Linked DNA regions of Homo sapiens: all the other regions are linked to region 1. Evidence: promoter capture Hi-C in 16 types of primary human blood cells and fetal thymus (Javierre and others, 2016). All regions are on one chromosome and are shown on one strand. Each heading gives the region's core, a stretch centred on a gene start or on the middle of the fragment in contact. The rest is flanking DNA. Distances are from core to core; before and after follow the strand shown.

What was found. Contacts are between HindIII fragments. The CHiCAGO score rates a contact against its expected background, and 5 or more counts as called.
Region 2: a contact is called between a fragment that was not itself captured here and the fragment with the promoter of SEC61A1 in region 1, in 4 of 17 cell types (naive B cells, total CD4 T cells, total B cells and 1 more). The highest score is 10.2, in naive B cells.
Region 3: a fragment that was not itself captured here is called in contact with the fragment with the promoter of SEC61A1 in region 1 in 1 of 17 cell types (activated CD4 T cells); the score reaches 6.6 in activated CD4 T cells.
Region 4: a contact is called between the fragment with the promoter of HMCES here and the fragment with the promoter of SEC61A1 in region 1, in 4 of 17 cell types (non-activated CD4 T cells, naive CD4 T cells, naive CD8 T cells and 1 more). The highest score is 7.8, in non-activated CD4 T cells.

What each region holds. Positions count from the first base shown.
Region 1 is chr3:128,050,127-128,054,756 of GRCh38, forward strand. SEC61A1 (SEC61 translocon subunit alpha 1) reads left to right here and starts at 2,311. Exons shown (of 12, transcript NM_013336.4): 1 at 2,311-2,433; 2 at 2,709-2,776. The coding sequence starts at 2,427. It overlaps LOC102723759 (a long non-coding RNA gene), which reads right to left and starts at 2,049. Exons shown (of 4, transcript XR_007096073.1): 1 at 1,836-2,049. RefSeq lists a cis regulatory region at 1,876-2,492 and a silencer at 1,985-2,624. The HindIII fragment of the contact is 3,738 bases long and covers 1-3,576 here.
Region 2 is chr3:126,469,512-126,474,141 of GRCh38, forward strand. It overlaps ZXDC (ZXD family zinc finger C), which reads right to left. Exons shown (of 10, transcript NM_025112.5): 2 at 2,642-2,794; 3 at 2,462-2,540; 4 at 1,384-1,514. Among named protein-coding and RNA genes, the nearest start is that of ZXDC, 4.1 kb to the right of the region's middle. The HindIII fragment of the contact is 321 bases long and covers 1,846-2,166 here.
Region 3 is chr3:129,433,238-129,436,253 of GRCh38, forward strand. It overlaps MBD4 (methyl-CpG binding domain 4, DNA glycosylase), which reads right to left. Exons shown (of 8, transcript NM_001276270.2): 4 at 825-899; 5 at 613-747; 6 at 1-10. Among named protein-coding and RNA genes, the nearest start is that of MBD4, 5.2 kb to the right of the region's middle. The HindIII fragment of the contact is 1,207 bases long and covers 648-1,854 here.
Region 4 is chr3:129,276,820-129,281,449 of GRCh38, forward strand. It overlaps HMCES (5-hydroxymethylcytosine binding, ES cell specific), which reads left to right and starts at 2,051. Exons shown (of 7, transcript NM_020187.3): 1 at 2,051-2,086; 2 at 2,891-3,096. The coding sequence starts at 2,914. COPG1 (coat protein complex I subunit gamma 1) reads left to right here. Exons shown (of 24, transcript NM_016128.4): 24 at 475-954. The coding sequence ends at 605. RefSeq lists silencers at 1,906-2,255, 2,266-2,655 and an enhancer at 3,076-3,205. The HindIII fragment of the contact is 5,702 bases long and covers 1,825-4,630 here.

The DNA of each region.
Region 1 (4,630 bases), core at 1,061-3,560:
GTTTATCTTATAAATTATAAATTTTATTTTGTGCTGATTCTTAAACAGTATCAAAAGAAGTTCCAGGCGGGGATTCATTATTATTACAAATTTCTTGTTTATTCTTCTGCAGATATCAAGATTTACATTTATCATACTTAAAAGTATTGAAAATTCATCCAGATTTTTGTGGTCTCTTTCATTCTAGGTGGATGTTTCTAATATCCTATAATAAAATCTTAAATGTATAAATATAAAACACTGCATACCTATTTTCCGAAGAATTAATGTATGTGCTTACAATAGAAATATTTTATTATTTTTTGAGACAGAGTCTCACTCTGTCGTCACCCAGGCTGAAGTGCAGTGGTGAGATCTCAGCTCACTGCAGCCTCGACCTCCCAGGCTCAAGGGATCCTCCCACCTCAGCCTTTCCAGTAGCTGGGACTACAGGCATGCGCCACCATGCCTAGCTAATTTTTTTCTGTATTTTTTTCTAGAGACAGGGTTTTGCCATGTTGCCCAGGCTGGTCTTGCACTCCTGGGCTCAAGTGATCCTCTTGCCTTGGCCTCCCGAAGTGCTGGGATTACTGGTGTGAGCCACTGCACCCAGTCCAATAAAAATATTTTAAACTAGTGATTCTCCTAAAGCAATCAGTGATTTAACACACGTAACTTGGCTGCAGTCCCTGCAGTGACACAGGCCAGATTGTGTCATAATGTGGAAACAACAGGAGGCCTGTTATCAATGGTACTGACATCCTACAACTATTAGCACAAACCAATGAGTTTATATTAAAATTTCTATTAACTAATTGTAATATTTATTGTAATTACTATACTATTTACCCTCGAAATATTTCAACATTTTAACCATCAATATGGTGCAGGGTGCATAATGGCTAAATATCGGATCTAGTCTATATGCTGAACTTAGTCCAGGGGCTGCCAGTTTTAGCTTCAGGCCAAAACTCCAGAAGAGATCATCAGTGGGTCCTGGAAGTGAAGATGGGTTGCATTTCAGACTCTGAATAAAGAGTCAATGTCTTCTTTTTCCCCTTTTTGGTGGGGGATGGATATCAAGTGATGTCACACCTAGACCACTTCACTGAAGTTACCTGCCTGTTCCCAGTAGTCCTTTGAATTTTCCACCAGTGGGTTTGTATTCCAAAAAAGACTTCCTGTCCTGTCCAACTTTCTGAGCCAAGAATGTACAAAACCTGATTATCTGCTAGAAATGGGTGAGAATGGAAAAATCCAAATAGTTGACACCTAAATTAAAAGCAAAAAAGCATCTTGCCACATATGTACCCTCAACTTCTACCTGTCCTGGTCAAGGTTTAGCTCCATGAAACCTTGCCTGATCCCACAAGGCGTGCCCACCTCCTCCCTGCTAAATGCTCACAGCATTAAGTCTGTTTCTCTTAGATGACATCATACCTACTGACTACAGATGCCTGAAAGTAAATTCCAACCCCCAGCCCCAGCATCCCTTGCCCTACCCGTTATCCCCCTTTCCCACACCGATCTTAGGCAATCACACCGCCATGCTTTGCCCACAACAGTCTCCTCAACCTGTTCCCTCATTCCTTCTCGCCAGAATCTATCAAGGCTCGGCACAAAGGTACTCTCCCAGGAGGCCTTCCTGAATTCTTCTGTGAGGCAGACTACTTCCCGAGCTGCCCCGGCCCTTCTCCGGCCAAGTCTCTCCAGAAACTCATCCCATTCGTTCTCAGATGGAAGGGGACCCACACCCACGACAAGCCTCCGGGTTTGCTTAATGACTCAGACAGCGAGGGTGCTCGGTAAGCCCCACCAGCCCGCGCCCTACTCAGCAGGTAATGACGGAGACCTACTAGGTGACGGGCGCCGCGGTAGACGCTGGGATAAGGTCCCTGCTCCAGGGAGCTTACGGTCTATTCACTAACGTCAAAGAGCAGTGAGTGCTGTTACGTGTATGGGAGCCACCAGGGTCTCCGCCTGCCTGCAGGGCCACGCGCGCACTCGACGCTTCGCGCCTGCCTCAGTTTCTCCGTGAGGCCGCACAGCCCCAGTCTCGGGAGGCGTGACACACCCTCCCCGCGCGCTCTCGCGTTACCAAGTCTGCGCAGCCGCACACCCCCAGTCCCGGCGGGCCCCGCGCGCCAGGCCCCTTCCCGACAGGCCCCAGGAGCCCCGCTGCATGCCGGGGCTTGAGGTCTCGGCGAAGCGGCGCGGCGCGGCGAAGCGCGGCGGCCGGCGGGCGCGCGTGGCAGGAAGCGGAAGCGATCCGAGGCCCGGCCCCGGCCCCGCCCCGCGCCGCGCCGCGCCGCTTGCCGCCGGGCTAGCACTGACGTGTCTCTCGGCGGAGCTGCTGTGCAGTGGAACGCGCTGGGCCGCGGGCAGCGTCGCCTCACGCGGAGCAGAGCTGAGCTGAAGCGGGACCCGGAGCCCGAGCAGCCGCCGCCATGGCAAGTGAGTCCTGTAGGGAAGCCCTATTGAGGCCGGGACGGAACAGATCCCCCTTCCCCACACCCGTGCGGTCGGGCGCCCGCCGGCCAACCCTGACCGGCCCCCTGCAGAACGCGGCCCGTGCCCCCGGCCCTTCTCGAGTATCCCCACGCGTCCGGGGTGCGGCCGGCTCCCCTGGCCCCTGCTCTCACTCGTCGTGGGCAGAAGGCGTCCCTGGGTAGCGCGGAAGGTTACTTCTCTGTGTCCCAACTCTTCCTGTTTTGTTTCTCCCATCAAAGTCAAATTTCTGGAAGTCATCAAGCCCTTCTGTGTCATCCTGCCGGAAATTCAGAAGCCAGAGAGGAAGGTAAGTACCCCAAATCGCCAACAAAGAAGGTTTCAGGAAACTGTCTGGACTCTGGAAGTTTACAGTATGATTAAAAATGGCTTCAGCACGGCAATGGAAACTCTCCCTTCTCTTCCCTTGGAGTGTAGTTGTGCTCTGTTATTCCGGAGAGCTGTCGAAAGGTGACCTGGTTGTGTGGAAATTTCCACTGAAATCACTGTGCTTTATTTGGAGCATCTTTGGTGGATGTTGCTCCGAGAACAAAGCCTCCGGTTGCCCTGTCCCAAAAATGGATCCGGGCCATGAATGAATAAGGCCTCAGTTAGGATAGCAGATTGAGTTACCCTCCCTTTTTCACCTCCAACGGGAGCAGATCACGGGTTGGTTTTTTTTCCCAGGAGATGCCCTTTGTATCCAGCTGCTAAAGGGAAGGGCTGTCACTTTAGTATTTACAAATGATTTTGTACCTTTTATGTAGGCTGTCACAATAGGGGGAATAAAGGCTATTCTTTTGTGAAGTCTGCTGCTTTTCACAGACGGTGTATTAAAACAAGGAAAGATTAAATTTAGAGCTGTGCTGAATCAGAAATTGTGTGGAGTGAGTGTTGCCAGTGTAACTACAGCTGTCAACGAAAAAAAGTTTCATTAGGTTCCTAGGTTAGAGAGTGGGGAATAAAATGTTTGTGTCCTCACATTATTTTTCAAACTGTTGTTAAAGCATTCACATGGACACTTGGGTGCTTGGAATCCACTTTCATTTTTTTACGTAAAATAGTTTCATATAAATGCCCATGTGCTGCTTTTAATGGACGAATTTGTAAAGCTTTACCCCCTCAATTCCAGTGTAGCGAAGGGGCATGGCTCTGGAGGCAGGCAAGCCTAGGTCCCACCCTTTACATAGCACCTTAATAGCTATGTGACCTTGGCCTTGTAACTCAGTGTGGTAGACGGAACAAGGGAAATACGTGCAAGGTATAGCAGTGGCTCAGGAAGGGATTAACTCTGGGAGACATGATGTCTTATGGTGGTTTTGAAGGAGAAATAGAAGTCTCCTTGAAGGGACGGAAAGGAATTCCAAATAAAAGGAGTATATAGTTTGCAAAGGCATTGGTGACAAGAGTGTAGCATGTTTGGATGGGAGGTTATTAGATGTAGTTGCTATTGATAGAACATAATTGTAGGTGGGGAACATTAGGAGATGAATAACAAGGGCCAGACATGAGAATGTCACTTTGGAAGAAAAGGAGAGGACTAGAGTTGGTTTAGAGGCTTTTCACATCAGAGGATGAACTGTGGTACTGAGCAAGAATGGATTTAGGGGCTACTAAGAAGCAGAGGAGACAGGACTTGGATAAAGAGCTTTTGGGGTTTTGATGTTAAATTTGATTGTAACCAGGAGAGAGGACTTGGTGATTAGAAAGGGAGTTTTGAAAAAATTGTCTGCTCTTTGTTTCCCATCAAGATTCATTTCAGACAGGTTACTCTGAAATGGCGTTGCCTTCTCTTGGCCACTTTCTAATTTCTTAGTGTGGTGGGATGGTAGGTGGGAAGAGGACCATTCTCAAGAGAAGAAGAGTCCTGTGAATGCCCCCAGCTTTGGATGGAGTATCTGAACACTGATTCACCCACTGTTGTGTGGCCGTATGACTGTGTCCTACTTTGCCTGCATGTATAGTTAGAGGACTGTGACTCCAGTTCTGGCCAGAGGGCCAGGAATGCTGACTCAGTGCCTGCCTAGAAGTGTTTTTAAAGAACACAGTTTTGTCACTTAATACTGTCAGTCTCTCACAAGGTATTTCAACCTCAGAATCTTCCGTCTGTACAATAATTAATGTTTGTTAAGCCCTCTAAAGCCATTAATGTAGTGTAGGCAGC
Region 2 (4,630 bases), core at 756-3,255, 1.6 Mb before region 1:
CCCACTGTTAAGGCCCCCGTCCAGGCCATCCCACCTCCCCACACCCCTGGCTGCTTTCAATCCTGAAGCCAGGCTAAGCCACAACTCAAACATGATGACATCATACGCTCACCCAAGCACTCAAGCCTGCCACTCCTGGCCCTGAGAGGCTCTCCCAGGCCACTCCGCCTCCAACACCCACACGCACGTGTCTGGTGCTCTCCCCTCTTCTTCAGCTGACCGCGAGGCCGTTCTCACCCCGGTCTGGGGAAACTCTCTGCGCCCCTGCAGCACCCTACATGTTACCTGTTCCCCTGTCTGCACCTCCAGCTGAAACTCTGACGGAAGGAGGAACTGTTTCTCAGTTACACCACTTGTATATATGTTCATTATGTTCTAAGAGCTAGGCTCAGCTTTAAATGGGTCTTTATTATTCTCTCTTCCAGGTAAGGAAACCAAGGCCCAGAGAAGCAGCTTGACTGAGGCCACCACTTTAGGGAGCGGTAGAGCCAGACTTTGAATCCATGACCACCCGACGTGTCCTGGCTCACTGCCTCCCAGTGCACCTGCAGAACTAGAGTAGGGCCAGCACGCACAAGTCACGCACAGGTCACGCAGCCAATTTCTGGCAAATGAACTGAGCCTTCAGTGTTTTAAAGGAAAAAACCACTCTACTATACCTTTTAAAAAGTCAGGTTGGGCGTGGTGGCTCACACCTGTAATCCCAGCACTTTGGGAGGCCAAAGTGGGTGGATCACTTGACGTCAGGAGTTTGAGACCATCCTGGCCAACATGGTGAAACCCTGTCTCTACTAAAAGCATAAAAATCAGCCAAGCGTGGTGGCATACGCCTGTAGTCCCAGCTACTCAGAAGGCTGAGGCATAAGAATCACTTAAACCTGGGAGGCAGAGGTTGCAATGAGCCAAGATCACACCATTGCATCCAGCCTGGGTGACAGAGCAAGACTGTCTCAAAAATTAAACAAAAAAAGAAAAAGTCAGTCTAGCTTTACTGCTCTCCAATTACAAAATGATTGGAGTGACAATTCAAACGTGATCTCAAAAGTACCTACCATTTACTGAGTCCGAGCTCCATGCCAGATGGATAAACAGGCATTTTCCACATTTCACCTAATCCTCACGACCACCAAATTAAACAGGTAACTTAACTAGAGCCACAGATCTAATGAGGATCAGGGCCATGAGTCAAACTGCGTCTGATTCTCAAGTCACTGCTCCCAAAATAGTACAATTAACTCAATGAGGTAAGTAAACATAATGCTGCAACTTATATTGAGTCAGTCTTTAAGCAGCTAACATTTACCTTTAAACAACGGAAACTTAACAGGATAAATGTTGGCATTGCACTTAGTTTACTGCTCAAAGCAATGTTTTAAAATCTACCTTCCACAGGACACTCGAACGGCTTTGTGCCTAGGTGGGTTATGCTGTGGCCTTTCAGATGCTCTGCTCTGGTGAATGATTTCCCACAGCCCTCGACAGGGCAGGTAAACCTCCGGTCATCGTCATGTTTCCTGCCAGACAGAAAAATAAAGGAGCTGTGATTCCTCACACAACTCACCATAATTCTTTAAAATTCTACAAAACATACCAAAACACAAACTTTGCATTTACAAAAATGATCAGTACATTTCGGAAAATCTTAATTCTGTCTTTAATCCATGTGAGCAGATTTGCAATTTAGCTACCCCATAAAAATTCTACTTTAATGACTAAGCTGACCCCAGAGTCACACATCAAACAATTAATGCTACTTCAATCTAATATAAGCTAATCTAAGAACAGTGGAGTCCCAAATGTATTGATGAAGGTGTTTCTATTGTTTAGAAACCCCAATGATCAACAAGCTTTCCGAGCGACAGACGGTCGTGAGAAATGTGCACAGAGCATCAGCTGCAATGCCAAAAGGACTCTCTTAAGCCAACTTGTAAAGACTGTGTCTTTTCCTAAGTGACATTTTTATATTAAATCCTCAGAGCCCAGCTGTGCAAGTACAGAAAAACCACTGAATCTCTCCGAGTCTCACTGTAAAACAGGGAGAATAAGAACATTAGCTTTGAGGTTGTTGGGAAGGTAGAAGACACACATGTAAAGTGCTGAGTGTCACCTGGACACAGTCTCCAGGGTTGTCATTACCACCATGAAAACTTGTAATTACATGAAGAAAGCTTATTCTACAATGTTAAGTTAAAAAAAAAACCTGGAATTGTTTTTTTTTTAAGAACAGAGTATGCCAATTTAGCTTTTTTTAAAAAAAGTATACACAGAAAAAACTGACTTCAGGTGATGAGATTCTGAGCAATTTTCTTTTTACAGTTTTCTGAATTTTCCAAATCATCAACACTGAGCTCCTTTTTTAACAACTTAAAAAATGTCTACAGATATTTCATTCATTGGTTTCTGCTGCTGACAAACCACTCATTTTCAAACCTGATAATGCAAACCAAAATGTAAGGATTACCTTCTGTGCCTTAGAAGTTTGGACATGCTGGTGAAGGTCCAGCCACAGCTGTCAGAGTCACAAATAAATGGTCTTTCACCTTATAAAAGAAAAAATTATACAGCATAAAATTTACAACTCCAACAGCTACGATGAAGACAAATCTTGGGTCCAAATGCTGTGCGTTCCCTAGCTCATTACCTGTATGGCTCCGCAGGTGAATTTTCAGCCGACAGGCTTTATCATACTGCTTGCTGCACCCAGGAAAGGAGCAGGAAAAGAGCTCTTGTTCCCTGAAGTGGGCTCGGTTATGGGAAAACAGGGCACTCACTGTGATAAATGTCTTCTCACAGCCTGAACAAGGAAAACACAAACCCTGCTCAAAGCGTGGCAAAAATTATACAACATAGCTAATGCTAGTCACACCCACCAGACCCTGTTCACACTGAAGCAGACAAGGGAAAACATGACTCAGAAGCACTCTCTAAAAAGGGAAGACCATTAATGCTTGGCTTTGTGATCACCACAGGAAGGCAGCTAATGGCAGCCAATAGGCACACGCTGGCCACCTGTTGCAACATGACTTGGAGATGGAGCAACCGATAAAGAGAAAGTCCTCCGTTCACAGCCATCTACTGGCCGGCTCCGGAGCACTGATCCTGCACACACACTGAGACCCAAGAACCCCATGAGAGAAATCAAATACTAAGGAACAAGATTTTGTCTGGTAGGGTTGATCTTTGAAAGGCTACAAATCATCCTACTAGCCAGGATTTTTCACCCCTTGGGGGTGATGCTGCATCCTCTACATATCCAAATTTCCTCCCTGACACCCTCCAACTGCCAGCCCTGTCCCTTGCTGTTTGGATTCTTTTTCCTTTCGCAATTTCCTTAGGTTCCCTGCTTTGTAATCTTCACCTCAATCCTAACCCCTGGCCAAAGCAGCTAAGCCTCAACAATTCCACAGCAATACTTCTCCTCCGACAGAAACATTCAGGGCTCCAACAGGGTGGAAAACATGAGGCTGCAGGATGTTTAACAGGAGTCTTTGCTGCAGCTCCTCTTGGAGCCTTTAACGAGATACTATCATGCCTATGAACTGCCACACAGATGTACATGGCATAGCACTGCCCAAAAGTATCAGCCCAAGGAACCCTACTTTCCCCAGCAACATCTAACTCAGAAATGCTGATCTTTGGCCTCAATCTGGTCCCAAAATACCTCCAGGGTATTTTGGGCTTCGGTGTGTTCACACACTTGGTCATGTAAATCTGAACACAGACTCTCTCTGCCTTGGCAAGAACCCCCCACACCCCCATAGATAATTACACCCTTTGGTTCTCCCTCTGCAATCTCACCTGCTAGAGACCCTCATCATTCCCACTCCCTGGCTCAGGCCTTCAGAAAACTCAGGTCTGGGCCCTTTGATGATGCTTCCCTGGTCCTGCTCCTGCTTCTAAACATCTAATCTCATCTAACCATCTAATCTCATCTCAACACAAGAAGCCTCATGGATCAGCCAACACAAAACCCTCAAGAGACCTCATGCCTGGAAGCAGGCGGGATCCCTGACCTTCCCAGTGTCATACACAGAATGATACTCTTTTAGCAGGGAAAGGGTCTACAGCCACCATCAGATTCCCAAGAGTGTATGACTGAAAAAGACTTTGAGCTAGTGGCCTCAAGCCACATTCTCTCTGAAGAGGAATGCGCAAGACAGTCCACAGGCATATGCGAGGGAAAAAATAATAAAACCCGTTCATAATTCTCATCTCATCCTTTAAAAATTCTTGTTTAAGGACATTATAAGGAGAGCCGTGTGCATATACAGGTTAGGGGCATGCTAGGCACACATTCCAGTTTCTGTTTGAATGACTGGTCCTTCCTCCTGGGCCCTCACCACAGACCACAATCCCCACCTGGGCTCTGCCACCCAGCCGACTCCATTCTTCTGCCTTTCCAGGGAGGAATCCTTTCTTGCCCTTCTGGAGGAACCCTATCCCTGTGAAAGCAGGGAAAGCTGCCCATCCTGGTGAAGAGCTCACTGTGTTGGAGTCCTACATTCCCAACAACTGCAGGTCAACACACAGGAGAAAGAACAGGCAGTGGACTTTTTTTTTTTTTTTTTTTTGAGACGGTGTCTCGCTCTGTCGCCCCGGCTGGAATGCAGTGGCGCGATCTCGGCTCACT
Region 3 (3,016 bases), core at 1-2,500, 1.4 Mb after region 1:
GCCATTTTGCCTGGGAAGTAAAAGTAACTGAATGATTACAAGACTCCAGGTGGGCTGATTTCATGTTCAAGTAGTTTCTCATAGAAATCTCATCCAGAGGGTTTTTTTTTTTAAAGAAAACAAAAAACAAAAAAACACTGGTGAGAAGCCATTATCTGAACCAGCAACCACTTTCAGAATCAAATGCCAAAACTGCTAATATATTGGGCTAATAGTCCAAATTATGCTGAAAACTGGCCTTGCATGATTAGCTTTTAAATGATCAGATCAGCAGATAATGAGAGTAGAAGCATATAGAACACAAGGTACATTCAGTGAAAAAGATACTTTTAAACACACATGAAAGAGGGTGGAGAAACGTTAACTGATTTTCACTGATGATCAAAAAGAATTTGGAAGTATAAAATAAATAAAATCTACCTCTTTATTCTAAAAGGTCTGTTGGATGTCATCCAGTCTCATTTCCTCATAGGTGAAGAGTTTAAGGGTGAAGGGGGAATGCCCTATCCCAGGTGACACACTCAAAATGGACTTTGAACCCAGGCCTCAATTCAGTGCTTTCTCCCTACCACACTGTCTCTACTAAGACAAAGATGATAATAATCCCCAAACCTGAGGTCCGATTGAGAAATATAGTAGCGATGAGAAGCTTCCATGGATCATGAAAAAGTGTTTCTTGAACGAGATTAAAAGGTGACCGAGGAGGTGTCCATTTCTTAAAGGCTTTACGTCGTGGGGGGCTAAGAGCTAAACAAACATAGTGCATCAGAATTGAAAACCCAAAATGGAATTAGAATTTGCTGTTCTGATTGGGAAAGGGATACCTTCTTTGTTATATTTGCTGGAAAAATACAGGCTTGTTTTCCTTCTTTCTATCTGTGTTCGTGGGATGGTATCTTCTGAAAAGGAAAAGTAAACACTTTATGGAGTCTATGGTTTAGCTTAAAGCAATATTGAGGGATGCAAATAATAATATCAACACTATTACAAAGCATGCCAGGCACTATTCTAAGCCCTTTACATAAATACCCAATTAATCTAACTAATGACCCATGAACTTGGTACTATTTTTATCTCCACTTTACAGATAAGGACATTGAGGCACAGAGAAGCTAAGTAACTTGCTCAAGATCACACAGATACTAAGTGTCCCAGCTAAAATTCAAATCCAGACAGTCTGGCTCCTGAGTCCTCACCTTTAACCACTCTGTGACACTAGTTCTTTATGACTTATGTTCAGAGTTTATAGTATTGAAAAATTAAAGGCAGTATGGAATATTTTAAATTACGATGCATTTGTATAATGTGGTCATTAAAGTATTTTTTAGACTATTGTGAATATTTTCCTATTAACTTCTAAATGAAAAAGCAAGAGTCTACATATGATCCCAATTTTATAAAAAAGGGGAAACATATATAAATAACAATACAGAAGTTAAGAATGAAATAAGCCAAAATGATATAATGGTTGTTGCCAAGTGCTAATTTTTCTTTCCTTCTTTACTTTTCTGTATTTTCCAAAATTTCTGCAGTGAACACTTACTTTTACGCTTACCAAAAAAAGGGATACAGACAAAACAGAATCTGCAGAAAAACCTACAATTTGAACCCTAGAACACCTGAGACAACTACCTATTGAGAACCTCTATCTATTGGGAACCAGTGTTATCAGACTTCTCAAATTTCTAAAATCACATGTAATACTCCTTAACCATACCCTCGCAATTTGAATATCAGTTAATAATACCTTGCATTTGTATAGCATCTTTTTCACTTCTCATTTTACAATATTTTTGATGTGAAAAACAGGACTAGTCAGGATGGTTACCTCTATTTTACAGATGAAGAAAGTGAAGCTTCTAAATGAAGCAATCATCCCAAAATGATACTGGGATTGACTATAAACTGGAACAAGTATCCAGGTCTCCAGATAATTAGACTACTGTTTTTTCGCTATTTTAGTTTGAGTAGGTAAAGCCCAGTAGAGAGTAAAAAAAAAAAAGAACAAAGGAAACTGCTCTGACTGCTCTGATTTGACAACTTTTTCTGTGGGCTCCTATGAATAATTACTAGTCTCCTTTATGCCAGGTTTACTTGGCAATTTCTAGCTAAGCCAATGGGTGTCTTCACTATTTCATGGACACCTCGTACTAAGAGTACTTCATCTCATGTTGAGAACTAGACTCTTACCACAAAAAAAAGTTTTTAATATTTGCCCATTTTGCTAGCAATAAATCTACATAAACCTCAAAGCTTTCTTCAAGAAGCTCAGTGTCTAGGACACAGACTTGAAGAATTCTTATGCAGTTCCTAGGTATATATGGCCATCTTGTGTTAAAGGCAGAGAAACTCCAGGCACAGAAAAGACATAAAATCATGGGTAGAACTGGGAACAAGAATCAAACCTAATCTCCTGCTTCACAAATTTCTCCAGGCTGTTTCCCCACAGGAGTTTAAGTAAAATTATTATTCTTTAAAGGAGTTATTCATTATACCATAATGGCATAATGAATAACTAATACAGGGCTGCTCAAAAGGTCTCCCTTTTATCTCTTATTCACTGAGGTATTATAAAGACAAAACTGCTAAGTTCTGAATTCTGTATTAAGAGCATATTACAAATAATAGATGAACTATGTGATTATACTTTTGAATTATTTAGAGCTCTAAAGCATTTTAGAGAAGCATTACATTAAAATAGAAGATAAAAATGACTATGATATATACAAAATTAAATTGGAAGTCACACTTAGTAGTAAGTATCAGGAGGGGTGTGAAGACACCAACTATTCTCCACTCATTTATGTATATAAGAAGCCTTCCCTAAATTTTTCACAAGTGAAGGCTTTTAATTTTCCTTCAAGTTTTAAGATTACTGGCTGGAAAGAGGATGGGAAGAAGGGAAAGCACTGCTGAGGAGGAGAGTCCCAGCTGCTGCACCAGGGAGAGACGATGGCAGCTGTTAATAGTAATACTCTCCTTTGCCATGGCATCACGACAGCAGTCAGCCGATTTT
Region 4 (4,630 bases), core at 801-3,300, 1.2 Mb after region 1:
TTTCTTTTTTTTTTTTTTTTTTGAGACGGAGTCTAGCTCTGTCACCCAGGCTGGCATGCAGTGGCACAATCTCTGCTCGCTGCAACCTCCGCCTCCCGGGTTCAAGCGATTCTCCTGCTTCAGCCTCCCGAGTAGCTGGGATTACAGGCGTCCACCACCATGCCCAGCTAATTTTCGTATTTTTAGTAGAGATGGGGTTTCACTGTGTTGGCCAGGCTGGTCTCGAATTCCTGACCTCATGATCTGCCCACCTCAGCCTCCCAAAGTGCTGGAATTACAAGCGTGAGCCACCGCGCCTGGCTGAGAGACAGTGACTTTCACAGTGAAATCCCTCACTCAGGGATTTCAGCCCAGCTCTCCTGCCCGTTTCACTACACCAGAGCTGCCTTCATGGGTTGCTGCAAATGCCATCCTTAGCCTGCCCTGTACAGTCCCTTCTGCTGTATATATCTGTACTTCTCTCTTCCCTTCTAGGTGTGTTCCGGGGTGGTCATGACATCCTGGTGCGCTCCCGGCTGCTGCTTTTGGACACAGTGACAATGCAGGTGACAGCCAGAAGTTTGGAGGAGCTGCCAGTAGACATCATCTTGGCATCTGTGGGATAAGAGGCCAGCCTGCATAGGACCTCATACCCTTCCCCAACACTACCTGGAAGTTGTGCCTTCCTCATGAAACTGGCAGAAACCCCTTCCCAAGCTTCTGTATTGAAAAACAATTAGGAATCATTGCAGATTTTTTTTTATTCTGCTCCCACCTCCCACCCGGGACTACTTGCTGGTGACTTTTTTTTTTTTTTTTTTTAAATAGGGGATGATTTTAGCTTGTCCTAAATCTTGCTGTCCACCCTTCCAGGAAAGGGACATTGTAAATGAATAAAACATTCTCAACTCCTCTTGAATCTATCCCCCAAGAAACCATCTTATCCCTGTAATAAATCAGCATGTATTTATTGAATGATTGCTACTTCTGCAGACTCATGCTTCAGGGCTCCACCTTCCCCTTCAAGGCCTCCCCTAAAGAGGCAGAACACCTGCCCTGTCCCCCTTGCACCCACAGCCCTTTGGCTGTTGTAGTCCTGTGAGGCAGGACCCTCTCCCCGTCATCGCTGTCCCAGCACCAAGCCCAGGGGTGGGAGCGGTAGAGGGTGGTTGAGTGAATCAGCTAACAGGCAGAGTTCACACTCCCTCCCGTTCGTGCTTCTTCACAACGCATCCTCCTTTGATAGTCGATAAATGGAGGCTCCAAAGGGCTTGGGTCCTGTGTCTGATCGTTCCAGCATCTGGTCTTACATGGAGTGTGCCCTGGGGTTTCTGCTCCCTGTTCAGTTCAGCGAATCAGCATAGGCGAACAGCCCTCTAGAGCATTCTCTGTTGGTTGCAGATGAAGAATCTCCGGTTTAGGTCCCAAGGGGAGCAGGCTTTTAAACTCAAGCCAGGCTATTTTACCAACTTTGAGGCCAAAGTACACCCGAAAGGGCTGTTTTAAAAATCTGGGCCTCACCCTTAGAGATTCAGCTGAGGGGCTGGGGCAGGAAAGGCTTATTCTAGTGCCCACCAATGTTTGAGGGCGAAGTGCGCGATTCCTGGAAGTTCTTCTGACTTTCATTTCTTCAGTGTTCCTCCATTTTTGCCTCGCACTGTGAGGCAGCTGGCAGGACTGTGAAGTAAGGAGTGGAGTTTCCTGGTTTCCCGCCTTCCATGACCCTGTGCCCTAGACTCAGCGCGGCGGGAACCTTCCCTGCCAGCCCTGAAACACGCTGGGGGCGGGGAGGAAGGTTAACCCCGCCAGGGAACGGCCAATATGGAGGAAAGTGGAGTCCCGAGAAGCTTGGGATCGATATGTCTCCCAAGGCAGTCACTGTCTCCTGGGGAAACGGGAGAAAATTCATCCCAAACCGGAGGGGAGAAGACGCCGCCTCCGGGGCCCGAGGGCACCGCGGGAACCAAGGGCCCTTGGGGGCGGGGCCTGGCGCCGGGAGCGCGGGCTGAGGCGGGGCTGACGTGAGGGGCGGTGACGCGGGTGGCCAAAGCGGAGCGGAGCGGGGGTGAGGAGAGTCGAGGGAGGTGACGCGCGCTGCCGGGGCGAGGTGAGGGGAGGGGAGGCGACGCGGGCGGTCGGGGTATGGCGAGGGGAGGGGAGGGGAAAGGAAGCGACGCGAGCTGACAGAGGGGAGCAGAGGCCCGAGCGGACGCGAGGCGACGCGGAGAGGGCGGCCTGGGCCGAAGTGAGGCGACGCGGGGCGGCGGAGTCTGAGGGCCGGAGCGGAGCGGAGGCGACGCGGGGAGGGGCGAGGGATCGCGGCCGGTGGCTGGGGGCCACCTGCTCCCCGAGCACCGGCCCCCGCTCCGGGGAGCAGAGTCCGGAGCGGGATCCGCGGCCCACAGGTTCGCAGGTCGGGCCCGGGGACGCTGCGGACTAGCGGGCGGGAGGCGGGGATTCTGCACCCCGGCCCCGGGCCGTCCAGTGGCCGCCCTCGAGGTGACCGGTTGCTGGCCGGCGTGGGTCGCTGACCCCAGCGGGGACTGGGGGGAAGGACGGGGAGTTGGGGGCACCAAGTCACCCGGAGGAGGCGACCCCAGCTAGCTGCGCTTGCCCTGCTTCGCTGGACTGTGAAGCCCCCTCCGCTGCGGCTCTTCCTGCGCTCAGGCAGGCATTTGCAGAGCTCCTCTCGGGACTTGCCTCAGTGCCCTGCACGGAGCTGGGCAGTGGGCTCAGGGAGCGAAGCAAACGGGCACATCCTTGTCTTTGTGGGACTTTTTGGGGAAGACTTTAGACGGTGGTCACGGAGGGGCACGGCCCTGTGGGAACGGAAAGAGAAGGCGGGGACTCAAGGAATAAGACCTAATATTTGAGATACGTAAGCCTTTTCCTTACGTTTTGTAATTTAAAGGTTGCGAGGGGCGGTGTTGAAGAATGTGTGGGCGAACATCCTGTCACTTACCTAGAGATGTTCTCACGAGAGCTTGCGCCTACCAGGATCGGCGGGGCCAGCAGCGGCTCCCGGAGTGGAGGGACCCTGATAAGTACTGCCCCTCTTACAACAAGAGTCCTCAATCCAACAGCCCAGTGCTTCTGTCTCGACTGCACTTTGAGAAGGTAACCAGCATTGCACTATGCTAGCCCCTCGCCCAGCCTCGTGATGGTCATCTCCTATTTGGTTTGGTGTGTGCTCAGCCTCTTGGGATGACATTAAAAACCAGCCTTTACTGATATATTCTGACTTCCAGTTGAGAACCTCTCTTGGCCTCATGAAAGAAGTTTTATCAGTGGCTTCTAACACTGATAAAGACGTATTTTTCAGGCTCAATTTAAATGCCTTTGCTATACATGGCATACTAGCCTTAATATATGCCAAATTTATATGAGCTTTGTGTTTTAAAATAGCAGCTTTCACTGATCATCAGGGTCATTGGAGTATCTTAAAAATATAATAAAAAAATTTAAGGCCAGGTGCCATGGCTCATGCCTGTAACCCCAGCACTTTGGGAAGCCGAGGTGGGAGGATCACTTGAGCCTAGGAGTTGGAGACCAGCCTGGGCAACATAGGGAGACCCCATCTCTACAAAAAATAAAAAAATGAGGTGGGAAGATCACTTGAGCTGGGGAGGTCGAGGCTTCATGAGCCATGGTTGTACCACTGCACTCCCACCTGGGTGACAGATCAAGACCCTGCCTAAAGAAAAAATTTAAAAAAATAAAAAATTTAAGAATATTTCTATGCCCTTTACCAGGCCAGCTTAATCAGACTTCTCTAGGCCTAGGACAGGCTTAAGATCAGTTAATTTAAAACACTTCTGATGTTTCTTGAGCATTGAAAAGTTTTATTCTTTCTGCTTGTGTTTTCAATCTTTTTGTGTTTGTCTTTTACTAAGGCTAGAAACACGTATTTGGTTTGGTTATCTGAAGTTTAATTGCATTCATTGTGTTTATAGTATTTATCCCTGTAGTGTTGGAATTACCAGTCACTTACATTCATATTTTAGTTTTTTGCCTTATCTCCTGAAAGTGTGTGTGTCTTTGTATGTGTGTGTAATAAAAATGCTTCGTTCTAGAAAGTAATAGTTTCTCCATGTCTTAAATATTTTAAATGACCTTGACATGTTTTTAAAAATCGTGATTGTTGGCTGGGCACGGTGGCCCACGCCTGTAATCCTAGCACTTTGGGAGGTGGAGGCGGGCGGATCACGAGGTCAAGAGATCGAGACCATCCTGGCCAACATGGTGAAACCCTATCTCTACTAAAAATACAAAAATTAGCTGAGTATGGTGGCACGCACCTGTAGTCCCAGTTACTTGGGAGGCTGAGGCAGGAGAATCACTTGAACCTGGGAGGTGGAGGTTGCAGTGAGCTGAGATTGCACCACTGCACTCCAGCCTGGCGGCAGAGCGAGACTCCATCTCAAAAAAAAAAAATTGTGATTGTTTCCTTCCTGAATTTTGACTGTATTTGATTCATAATGCTGAAATCACTTTATAAAGTTGATTATACCTCTGGTACATACTCTTTAAACTTTTGTGATAATATGATAGTCAAAAAGGACTCATTTCTGCATTATAGGGAATCACATCATTTTGAAATAAAGATAACAGGCTGGGCATGGTGGCTCACACCTGTAATCCTAGCACTTTG